Regions from separate parts of the Homo sapiens genome. Here region 2 is linked to region 1. Evidence: promoter capture Hi-C in 16 types of primary human blood cells and fetal thymus (Javierre and others, 2016). All regions are on one chromosome and are shown on one strand. Each heading gives the region's core, a stretch centred on a gene start or on the middle of the fragment in contact. The rest is flanking DNA. Distances are from core to core; before and after follow the strand shown.

The links. The method cuts DNA at HindIII sites, captures the fragments that hold promoters and counts their contacts. A CHiCAGO score of 5 or more calls a contact.
Region 2: a fragment that was not itself captured here is called in contact with the fragment with the promoter of AGAP2 in region 1 in 2 of 17 cell types (M1 macrophages and erythroblasts); the score reaches 7.6 in M1 macrophages.

What each region holds. Positions count from the first base shown.
Region 1 is chr12:57,734,960-57,741,240 of GRCh38, reverse strand. It overlaps AGAP2 (ArfGAP with GTPase domain, ankyrin repeat and PH domain 2), which reads left to right and starts at 2,499. Exons shown (of 19, transcript NM_001122772.3): 1 at 2,499-4,162; 2 at 5,814-5,872. The coding sequence starts at 2,995. RefSeq lists a silencer at 3,127-3,346. The HindIII fragment of the contact is 3,748 bases long and covers 509-4,256 here.
Region 2 is chr12:57,670,095-57,676,219 of GRCh38, reverse strand. It overlaps the pseudogene RPL13AP23. Among named protein-coding and RNA genes, the nearest start is that of OS9, 21 kb to the left of the region's middle. The HindIII fragment of the contact is 216 bases long and covers 1,639-1,854 here.

The DNA.
Region 1 (6,281 bases), core at 1,250-3,749:
GAGGAAATGCTGCCATGGCAACACCATCCGCCACATCCTCCTGCCCACCCCAGGCTTCAGTCCTGTGGTGGAGCCCTGGCAGGAACAGCTTCTCTCCATCCACAAGGCCCTACCACTGAGGAACTGGTGGAACTGGAGGTTGTTCCAGCTCGCTGTCATTCCATTCACCTCTGATGCAGCAAAGAGCTAACAAAAGCAGCCTTCTTTGCTCATGAAAGGTGTCTGGTGGAAACACTTCTTCCATCATATCCTGATCTCTTCCAGCCATTTCAGTCTTCTCCATTGTTACCTGCCTACCTGGGTGGTTGTCAAGAGATCATTCTTTCCCTCAAGGACACCTCCTGCCAGACCTCTCTGCTAGTACACCAGAGTATAACTTGGGGAAGGAACAGCTTGCTTTGGATGCCTAGTGGGACAGTCTGATGATCCCCTTCCCATTGTTCTTCGGAGGCTAGTGCCCCTCTCACCTCCTGTCCCATACCCTTTGCCAGGAACTACACCTGAAGCTTCCCCTGACAGCCTTAGTGTTTGGAAAGGCAGACCAAGGGGGAGTGGGCCATGGGGCCTCCTAGGGAGAAACTCTAAGCCCCACCCCTCTCAAAAATAATAATGATAATAATAATAAAGGAGAAGAGCGGTTTAGGCCAGGCAGAAAAGCTGTGCTTAGCTCTGGAGAGGGAGGAGGGTGAGGAGGGGTGGAGGTGGAAATCCCTGAGAAGGCTTCACTCCTCATAAGTGATTTGTTTTACTCCTTCTCTAAGAATTAGTATTCTGTTCCCATTGAACATAAAGGAAAACCGAGGCCATCAAAGGAGGGAAGTTTAAGCCAGAGCCAACAATTCTCCTTCACCCTCTCCATCAAAAAACACTACTGAAGGGTCTCCTGTCCTGGGGATGGTGTCATCTTGGTTCTGTAGGGAGGGAGGGAGAAACTGCTGAGCCCCAGGACAGAACATTGGAGGGATTGGATACAGGCCTCTGGGAGAACAAAGGGCTCCTGGCATCCTGGCTCAGCCCCCCCACCCTCAGCCCCCCACCAGGCCAAGCACGCTGCGGGCTCCTGCCTCCAAGAGCCGCCCACGGCAGCACTTATTATAGTCTCAGCTGCGTCAGGAGGGTGGGACGCCAAATCAGGGGACTGCTGTGACTCCCCAAGTCCCGGGAAGGGGTCTCCAAGGCTGCAGAGAGACCTTCCTTCGCCCATCTTACCCCACCCCCAAGGGGTCTCAACCTCTTTTCCACTTTGGCCTAACCACTTCAGGATTCTCACCTGGCTGGAGGATAGAGAGCCTTGAACTCCAAGACCCCTAGAGGGGTGGGGGACACGGAGCAGACGGTTTCCATTCACTCTGCCTGCCTCCTCTTTAATCTTCTGAAAGAATCCCACTCAGCAAACCTCAGGAGACTGAAAGGGAACCCTGAAGAGGCCGGCTCTCACTGCCTCAACTGAAGGGTCCTTATACTTGGGGAGTGAAATCCTCCACCTGTGGGTAGCCAGGTGTCAGGGCAGTGCCTCCACTAATTCAGCATCCCGCGGTTGGTCCCCTACCCACCATACACACGGATTCCTCTCTGCTTCTGCCCGCTGTTTCTGAGGCACTCTTGGAGCTACGGTTGCTATGGAGACTGGATGCATTTTGGCATGGGGGGGTATCAGTCTAAGACACATCCTTCTCCCTCCTCCTAGAGCTGGAGCCTTTGACTTACCCTGTGGCCTGGGCTCCTCCAGCACTCAGATCTCTCCCTTCTCTCCTACCCTGCTAAGTTCCATGTTTGTCCCCATCCCTGGGGAACATTTTCCAAGTTCACTTTGGGACAGTCGAGCTCAAGTCTTGGCCCCGTCAAAGTATTAAATGTGGTGGTGTGAGTGGGAAAGGGAGCTGGGTCATGAGAACGGGAACCGTCCAGGTACCTGGGGGAGACAAGAGATCCTGGGGGAAGGGATTTCAGGGCCCCCACTTTCCCACTTCATCTTCCCCAGAATTGGCAGTGACCCTGGGTTTGCTCTGTTTACCGCGGCCCCTGTCCACCCAATAGATCGATTTTCACCCTTATCCCTAAATGCCATACCTCACAATCGCGCTTCCTAACCTTGGTGCGCGAGAGGAGGGGGCTAGGTTGTTGGAGGAGGTGAGTCCAAGTCCCAGGAAATCCAGCCCAGGATTTGGGAGAGAAATCCAGCCCTGGATTTTGCACCGCCCTCGCAGACATCGGTGCTGGTGGAGAAAAGGTGGGGGGGAGATAGGGTGGGGGGGCCTGGGGGCCGCCTCCTCCTCAATGTGAGGGGAGCGCCCGGACACAGCGCGCATCCGGACCAAGCCGAGCCCAGGCGAGGCCCCCGGACTCTTCGCCCGGATCTCACGCCCCTCCCCTCCCAGACCCCAGACCCGTGGGTTCCCACCCACCTCCCGTTCCCTCTTTCCTCCCCCGCCGCCTCCTGTATCTCCATCCCCAGCATCCTCCCCGCGCCCCTGCGAATCCCCCGCACGGCCAGCCCCACTAGCTTCCCACCCTCCTCTAGACCCTCTTTCCGACCGCATCCGCGGCCCCTGTCCCTTGAGTCCCAATTCCCCGCCCCTGCCTCCCCCGCACAGGTTCGTTTCCCCTAGCCTCCGGTCCCCTTTTCTGCTCCCTTTTCCTCTCTCTCCCCCATTTGCCCCCACTACTGTCCTCCCCGCCCTCCCCCACCCATCTCAGCGCCCCCACCCAGGCCGGGGTGGACGGTCCGGCGCGCCTCCCTGGAGCAGCACCAAGGTCCCGGGGCTCCAAGAGGGTGGGGGCGCAGGGCGGGGAGCATGGGGAGGGGGCGCCCCATGTGATGGGAGGGGGGCGCAAGCGGAGGCGGCGGAGGCGGCGGCGACAGCGGAGCCGGGCCGGGGGCTCAGCGGGGTCCGGGGGCTGGGGGCAGCGAGCAGGGCGGCCCCATGGCCGGGCCCCCCTGAGGCAGTCCGGGGGAGTCCCCTCCCCTCCCCAGCTCGGGGGTCTCCGGGCCCCATGAGCCGGGGCGCGGGCGCGCTTCAGCGCCGGACAACGACCTACCTCATCTCGCTGACCCTGGTTAAGCTCGAGTCGGTGCCTCCGCCGCCGCCTTCTCCGTCTGCGGCCGCGGCCGGCGCCGCCGGTGCCAGAGGCTCCGAGACTGGGGATCCTGGCAGCCCCCGAGGCGCGGAGGAGCCGGGCAAGAAGCGGCACGAACGTCTCTTCCACCGGCAGGATGCGCTGTGGATCAGCACGAGCAGCGCGGGCACCGGGGGCGCGGAGCCCCCAGCCCTGTCCCCGGCTCCGGCCAGTCCGGCCCGCCCAGTCTCCCCCGCTCCCGGCCGCCGCCTCTCCCTCTGGGCCGTCCCTCCGGGACCCCCGCTCTCCGGGGGACTGAGCCCCGACCCCAAGCCTGGGGGCGCCCCCACCTCCTCCCGGCGCCCCCTGCTCAGCAGCCCGAGCTGGGGCGGCCCGGAGCCCGAAGGCCGGGCGGGCGGCGGCATCCCTGGCTCATCCTCTCCGCACCCTGGCACCGGCAGCCGGAGGCTCAAGGTGGCGCCTCCTCCGCCGGCTCCCAAGCCTTGCAAGACCGTGACCACGAGTGGAGCCAAAGCCGGCGGGGGCAAGGGCGCGGGTAGCCGCCTGTCATGGCCCGAAAGCGAGGGCAAGCCCAGGGTCAAGGGGTCAAAGAGCAGCGCCGGGACTGGAGCTTCGGTCTCTGCCGCCGCCACCGCCGCCGCCGCCGGGGGAGGGGGCTCTACAGCTTCGACCTCTGGTGGGGTCGGGGCTGGGGCTGGAGCCCGAGGGAAGTTGTCCCCTCGGAAAGGCAAGAGTAAGACCTTGGACAACAGTGACTTGCATCCGGGACCGCCTGCCGGCTCTCCTCCTCCGCTAACCCTCCCACCAACTCCGAGTCCAGCCACTGCTGTCACCGCTGCTTCCGCGCAGCCCCCCGGGCCTGCACCTCCAATCACTCTGGAGCCTCCAGCTCCGGGGCTGAAACGGGGCCGGGAGGGGGGCCGAGCATCCACTCGTGACCGCAAGATGCTCAAGTTTATCAGCGGCATCTTCACCAAGAGCACAGGAGGGCCTCCTGGCTCCGGGCCCCTTCCCGGACCCCCCAGCCTGTCTTCTGGCAGCGGGTCCAGGGAGCTGCTGGGCGCCGAGCTCCGCGCTTCCCCTAGTGAGTTGAGTCAGGGCTTGAGAACAGGGAGGGAAGGGTACCTGGAATGCTCAGCTTGGGGTGGAGGAGCGAGGTCCAGGAAACTAGGGAAGCTTTTCTCTGGGGTGGGCGGATGAACCAAGCTCACCCCTCTGTCAAGGATTGGGGCAAAGAATAGGAGTCCTGAAGCGGGGCGAGTAGCTACATTGTGCGACAGGAGAAAGGACTTGATTTCAGAGGGACTCAGCCTCAGAGCTTTCTGGGAAAGTAACGTCCTTGATCAGAGTGACTAGAAAATTGCTCCCAGAGAAGCCCAGGACCCCACTTCCAGCCTCAGCTGAACTCTGGGAGCATGGAAACGGGGCTTTGCCGTGTTTAGAGCGACGTTGAAGGTGAAGGGGATGAGGAAGCCTCAGTTTCCCCTGAGCACTTGGGGCAGGTGGCATGACAGTGACCTTGCAGGCAGCTTCTCGCCAGGGACTAGTCGTCCCCTGGGCTGAGAGCAGGCTAGTGATGTTTTTCGTGCGGTGAAGGCGGATTGGGCGGTACGCGAGTCCGCGGGGGCTGGAACGTGCAGAATATTTAAATGTGAAGTGAGAGGGGGCGGATAGGAAGCCTCACTTCCCCCACTGCCCACCCCCTCCCCAGAGCCGCATTGAAACCCACCCGGGGCTGACCCTGGAGTGAGTCAGGTGGGGCGGAACTGCTGCAAAGGCAATCCGTACCCCGGGAGACTTGGGAGGCGGTACGGGGAAGGTAGTGTTTTTTACGGGGGCAGGGTGTCTATTATTATTACTATTTTCCTACTGGAGGAGATAGGCAGGAGACTCTTGGTTCGGCTCACACTCCCGGGAGAGGAGGCGGGTCCGGGAGCGGAGGCGGCCCCCGGGGTTTGGCTCCGGAGCGGGTGGGAGCAGATGGCTCCGGATCCCAGAGTTCCCGCCGCAGCTGCGGCGCCCCGGGAACGTCCGGCCGGTGTCAGGCGCGGGGGCTGGACCTGGCTGGCGGAAGGAGCATCCTTTCCCCCGGGCCTGTGGCTTCTCTCGGCCAGGCGATGGAGCCCTTCCCCACAGTTCTTTTGGAGGGCGTTTGTGGGGAGGGTGTGGGAGATGGAGGCATAGGAAAATCCTAGCTCTTTCCCTTGGGCTGTGGGGAGGGGTCCAGGGCTACAGTGCCGTTGACCTTGAAGAAGGGGAGGGAAACCCCTCACCTCAGTTTCTCTCCTGTGGAATGGAGGTTGGGGAAGACACACTCTCTTCTGTGTTTCAGCACCTCCTCCCAGGGTCTGCCCTGGGAACCAGTGGGTTAGGGAGGAGCTCCTCTTCTATTCTTTTTCCAGAGGGAAGAACCTGCCACTGTCAGAGCCCTGGTCTCCCTGTCTGGGGCCAGGACCCGCGTTTGGGGATGTGCTTTAAGGGAGATGCCAACTGAAGTATTTTTGTCTTGCTAGCTCCGTTGCTAAGCAACCACTGAGCGGCAGCAACAGCTGGGGGAGAGTGGCTGGGATGGGAGGCCTGGGGACCACCCTCAAACCTGTCTGTTGCACACACCTCTCCAGTGCAGGCAGGGTTGGGGGGGGGTTGGAAAGCTGCAGAGGGAGGAGGGGTGGCTCAGTGTTGGGGGTCCTTCTGAGCCAGGAGCCTCCCCTCTTACTGCCCTTCTCCCGTTACAGAGGCTGTGATCAATAGCCAGGAATGGACTTTGAGCCGCTCCATTCCTGAACTGCGCCTGGTAGGTAACCCAGTCCCCTTGCCTATAGGGAAGGCTGACCTCCCACCCACTGCACTCTCAGCTCTCTCCCTTCACCTCTCCTTCTCTCTCTCTCTCTCTTTGGGAATAGGGAATCGTTTTCCAGTTCTCCTGAGAGTCTGCCTTCATAGCACCAACATGGGGTTTGCTACAGCCTCCTCACAAGTTTTTCCTATCTAGTCTTTATGCAGCCATCCCCTTTTTCCTGTTTGTTCATGGTCCTCCTCCAGGCTTCTCATTTCTGGTATCTGCCCTTTGGCCTTCATGTTGTACTGCCTAGAATTGGGTAAAGTTTTCCAACTAGTGCCTAGAGCTGTGACATGCTACAAACACACACACACAGAGACACACACACACAACATATCTAGTATGTTTTCTAAACAACCCAACA
Region 2 (6,125 bases), core at 497-2,996, 64 kb after region 1:
GATAAATGAAAGGTTTGTGTTGTAGGTAACCAGTAAAAGTCTGGACATAGAATTATATAACTTCAAATTGATCAAGGGAAAAATGAAATGAGAAATAAATACCAGTTATGAGGCCACTGATTTCAGGAAATACTTGTATCTATCATCAAAAAGAATATCGGCGGGGCTTCGTGGCTCATGCCTGTAATCCCAGCACTTTGGGAGGCCGAGGTGGGCAGATCACGAGGTCAGGAGATCGAGACCTTCCTGGCTAACACGGTGAAATCCCCGTCTCTACTGAAAATACAAAAAATCAGCTGGGCATGGTGGCGGGTGCCTGCAGTCCCAGCTACTCCGGAGGCTGAGACGGGAGAATGGTGTGAATCCAGGAGGCGGAGCTTGCAGTAAGCCGAGATCGCGCCACTGCACTCCAGCCTGGGCGACAGAGCGAGACTCCGTCTCAAAAAAAAAAAAAAAAAGGAATAAAAGTAATTTATTTGATTCCGATCACAAAATACAGGCAAGAAGCACGGGCAATGCCTGTAACTCCTTGATCACACATCTTCCCAGTCTGTGCTTTTATAAATACCCTTCGTACAACAGCAAGCTAATGCTGTCCCCCAAGCGCTTGTTCACATTCTAACAGCTGCAAAGTATAGTGTATGACTAGTTGGGAAGTTAAACAGATGCCCTGCTCACAAGGTAGGGCCCCTCCAATTAGTGTTCCAGCTCCCTTTCGCTGATATTGAAACTGAAGTAATTTGTTGCTCTATTGGTCACAGATGAATTATGCCTGCACAATTCTTCGAGGGCTTTAAGTAACCTTATTGAAAGGCAGTGACTAAGACCCTTTCCTTGCTCCCAAGCTTCCTAAGTCCCAGGCTGCCTGTGGCACCTGGACTGCTGCCCCTGGGTCTCCCACATTCCAGGGCCACGATGGAGGAAGGGCAGGCCAGGCCAAGCATAAGTAATAAACAGTCTTTACCGGGCTCAGGCCAGGAGTCCGTGGGCCTTGAGGACCTCCCTGTATTTGTCAATTTTCTTCTCCACATTCTTTTCGGCCTGTCTCCATAGCCTCAGGAGTTGTTTCTTCTGGTCCTGGATCTTGGCTTTCTCCTTCCCCTTCTCCTCCAGGGTGGCTGTCACGGTCTGGTACTTTCAGCCAATCTCGTGAGCCAGGTACCCCAGGTAGGCGAACTTTCTCGTAGGCTTCAGACGCACAACCTTGGGGGCAACAGGAAGCACCATCCGCTTTTTCCTCTCACGGGGCGGTGGGACGCCACCGAACACCTGGCGGCAGGTCCTAGGCGGCCTGGCTGGCTGCTGTCGTGGGGCGGCCCGGCTCGCAAGCTCTGCCAGAAGACGTGGGGCCTCGGGAAGGGCTGGTGTTCATCCGCTTGCGGAGGAAAGCCAGGTACTTCAACTTGTTTCCGTAGAAATTGCCAGAAATGTCGATGCCCTCGCAGCGCACGATCACCACCTTCCGGCCCAGCAGCACCTGCTTAGCCACGATGGCCGCCAGGCAGCCCAGGAGGTGACCTCGGCCATCGAGCACTAGGACCTGCCCCTCCGCCATCTTCAGCAGCCTCCTAGAAAAGATTGAATTATAAATCAGAAACTTCCCATGAAGAAAATGTCAATACTATTTCTTCACAAGCTTTTCCAAAAATAGAAGAAAATGAAGCTCTTCCAAGCCCATTCAATGAGGTAATACTACTCAGATACCAAAATCAGACAAACACAATACAAGAAAACTGTAGACTATTTCTTATGAATATAGACCCAGAAATTCTCCACAAATTACCATGAATTCAACAACAAATAAAAAGGATTATATACCACGACCAAGTGGGATTTATCCCAGGAATGAAAGCTTGAGTTAACATAAGAAATAAAATTAATGTTGTACATCCTATCCATAGACTAAAGGACAAAAACCACATGGTCATCTTAGTAGACACAGAAAAGACATTTGACAAAATTCAACATCTCTTCATGATAAAAACATTTAATAAACCAGGAAGATAAAGGGACTTAATCAACCTGATAAAAGTCATCAAGCATCTACAAAAAACCCACAACTAATATCATACTTTTTGGTAAAAAATGAATGATTACTCTCTCTAATATTAGGAATAAGACAAGAATACCTACTCTTACCATTTCTATTTGACATTGTACCGGACATTCTAGCCAGTGTAATTAGGCAAGAAGATGAATGTTGTATGTAGATGAATGAATGAATGTAAAAGGCATACAGATTGGAGAGAAAAACAAAACCATCTCTATTTGCAGATGACCTTATATCTAAAATATCCTAAGGAATTCACTAAAAAATCTATTAGAACTAATAGAAGAATTCAACAAGGTTGCAGAATACAAGAATCAATTGTATTTCTATACACTTGCAATGAACAATCTAAGAACAAAAGAACATAATTTCATTTGCAATACCGTCAAAAAGAATAAAATAATTAGAAACACACGTAGCAAAGAAGTACAAAACATATACTCTAGGCCAGGTGCGGTGGCTCATGCGTGTAATCCCAGCACCTTGGGAGGCCAAGGCGGGCGGATCACCTGAGGCCAGGAGTTCGAGACCAGCCTGGCCAACATGGTGAAACCACATTCTACTAAAAATACAAAAAAAAATTAGTCGAGCATGGTGGCGGGTGCCTATAATCTCAGCTACTTGGGAGGCTGAGGCAGGAGAATTGCTTGAACCCGGGAGGCCAGCCAAGGTTGCGGTGAGCTGAAATTGCGCCACTGCACTCCAGCCTGGGTGACAGAGCAGGACTCCATCTCAAAAAAAAAGAGAAAAGAGGATAAAAGAGGCTAAGTGAACAAAGCTAGTCTTCAAAACCACATATTGTGTGATTACATTTATATGAAATGCCCAGAATAGGTAATTCAATGGACAGAAAGTAGATAAGAGGTTACGTTGGGCTGGGGAGCTCACTGAAAGTTGGGAAATGGGTAGTGACTGCTAACGGGTGCAGAGTTTTTTTGGGGGTGATAAAAATGTTCTAGAACTGATTGTAGTGCACAACTCTGTGAATATACTAAAAACCATTGAATCTACACTTTAAATTGGTGTGTTAATACTGAGTATCAACTTGATTGAAGGATGCGAAGTATTGTTCCTGGGTGTGTCTGTGAGGGTCTTACCAAAGGAGATTAACATTTGAGTCCGTGAACCAGCAGAGGCAGACCCAACCTCTATCTGGATGGGCATCATTTAATCAGCTGCCAGCGTGGCTGGGATAAAAGGAGAGGAACGTGGAAGGGCTAGACTGACCAAGTCTTCTGGCCTCCATCTTTCTCCCATGCTTGATGCTTCCTGCCCTTGAACGTTGGACTCCAGGTTCTTCAGCTTTTGGACTCTTGGACCTACGCCAGTGGTTTGCCAGGGGCTCTTGGGCCTTTGGCCACAGACTGAAGGCTGCACAGTTCACTTCCCGACTTTTTTTTTTTTTTTTTTTTTTGAGACGGAGTCTCGCTCTATTGCCCAGGCTGGAGTGTGCAGTGGCGCGATCTCGGCTCACTGCAAGCTCTGCCTCCCGGGTTCACGCCATTCTCCTGCCTCAGCCTCCCAAGTAGCTGGGACTATAGGCACCCGCCTCCACGCCCGGCTAATTTTTTGTATTTTTTAGTAGAGATGGGGTTTCACCCTGTTAGCCAGGATGGTCTTGATCTCCTAAGCTTGTGATCCGTCCGCCTCGGCCTCCCAAAGTGCTGGGATTACAGGCATGAGCCACCGCGCCCGGCCCTTTTTTTTTTTTTTTTTTTTTTGAGATGGAGTCTCACTCTGTCGCCAGGCTGGAGTGCAGTGGCATGGTCTCGGCTCACTGCAACCTCCACCTCCCGGTTTCAAGCAATTCTCCTGCCTCAGCCTCCCAAGTAGCTGGGACTACAGGTGTCCGCCACTACACCCAGCTAATTTTTGTATTTTTAGTAGAGACGGGGTTTCACCGTGTTGGTCAGGATGGTCTCGCTATCTTGACTTCATGATCCACCTGCCTCGGCCTCCCAAAGTGCTGGGATTACAGGCATGGGCCACCGTGTCCGGACTGTTTATTTTTGAGATGGAGTCTCACTCTGTTGCCTAGGCTGGAGTGCAGTAGTGCCATTATGGCTCACTGCAGCCTCAGCCTCCCAGGTTCAAGTTATCCTCCCACCTCAGCCCCCTGAGTAGCTAGGACTACAGGCGTGCACCACCATACCTGGCTAATTTTTTTGTATTTTTTGTAGAGATGGGGTTTTACCATGTTGCTCAGCTAGTCTTGAACTCCTGGGCTCAAGTGATCCACTCACCTCAGCCTCCCAAAGCACTGGGATTATAGGCATGAGCCACCACCCCCAGCCTCCATTCAATATATTTGTGATAAGTTATTTTGGCTAAACTATATGAAGAATTCTGAGCCACTGTACCTGTAGTCCAAGCTACTCAAGAGGCCGAAGCAGTAGGATCACTTGAGCCCGGGAGTTTGAGGCCAGCCTAGGCAACATAGTGAGACTCCATGTCTAAAAAAACAAAAAACAAGAACTGTATGATGCAGGATTTAGTTGCCTTTTGTTTATTACACCACACTCAACAAATAGTTCTTTCTTTCTCTCTCTCTCCCTTTCTTCCTTCCTTCCTTTCTTTCTTTCTTTCTCTTTCTTTTCTCTTGAGACAGGGTCTTGCTCTGACACCCAGGCTGGAGTGCGTAGGGCAGTGGTACAATCATAGCTCACTGCAGCCTTGACCTCCTGAGCTCAAGCGATCCTTCCACCTCAGCCTCCTGAGTACTTGAGACTACAAGGAGGTGCCATCACACCTGGCTAAATTGAAAAAAAAAAAAAAAAATTGTAGAGACAGCATCTCCCAATGTTGCCCAGGCTGAAATATTTGTTTCTTAAACATTAGCTGCAATGTAAAATCTGAAACTATATCAATAAGCCTTTTCCACTCTGGGTTATATGAAAATCTATCTTGCACTTTGATTGGATTTTTTTACCCATGCATGATTTTGTATCCATAATGAATTGGTCATTTGGAAAACATTGGATCACTGAGCTATGCAGAGCTTGCAAATGTTGCCACATTTCACTGTACAACGTTTTTAAAATAACATTCTTTAATATCACCACCAGTCTCATCAGAAAAGTCTTTAAGTATTGGGAAACGGTCAAGCTTGGGTGGCAGGTACAAAATTCTATTTTGCTTGAAAGTTCTAACTTTATCATTGCCAACAAATAATGTTAAGTTGCTTTCCTTGAAGCGACAGGCTTACTTTGTTTATTTTTGTAAAACTGTCTGCCTAATACTCAAGACTCAATAAACATAGTTCATTATACTTTCAAGTAAAAAATGCGTTCACTGGAAAAAAATTGGCTAGTTCCGTTTGTGTCTAAATAACACAAGTGCTTTTCTTCCAAACAACCAGACTTTGGTAGGGAGCAAAAGCACTTTGCCCATACTTCCCATTTTGTTAGACAGAATTTTCAAAAGATGTTCACTCAAGGGTTGAGATTTAACAAAATTAATACTTTTCACAGCTTCACAAAGGACACTCTTTGTTTTTGTTTTTATTTTTTTGTCGTTGTTGTTGTTGTTGTTTTGAAATGGAGTCTCACTCTGTCACCCAGGCTGGAGTGCAGTGGTGCGATCTAGGCTTACTGCAACCTCCACCTCCCGGGTTCAACTGATTCTCGTGCCTCAGCCTCCTGAGCAACTGGGACTCCGTCTCACAAAACAAACAAACAAAAACAGGCAAGTAGTGTTTTATTTGTTTCTTTGTTTGTTTTCTAATAGAGAAAGGATTTTCCTATCTTGCCTAGGCCGATATCAAACTTCTGGGCTCAAGGTGTCCTCCTGCCTCTACTTCCCCAAGTGTTGGGATTATAGGCATGAGCCACTTTTTTTTTTTTTTTTTTTGTGATGGAGTTTTGCCCTTGTCACCCAGGCTGGCACACTGCAACCTCCGCCTCCCAGGTTCAAGTGATTCTCCTGTCTCAGCCTCCCGAGTAGCTGGGACTACAGGCACATGCCACCACACCTGGCTAATTTTTTGTATTTTTAGTAGAGATGGGGTTTCACCACGTTGGCCAGGCTGGTCTCGAACTCCTCACCTCAGGTGATCTGCCCCCCTCGGCCTGACAAA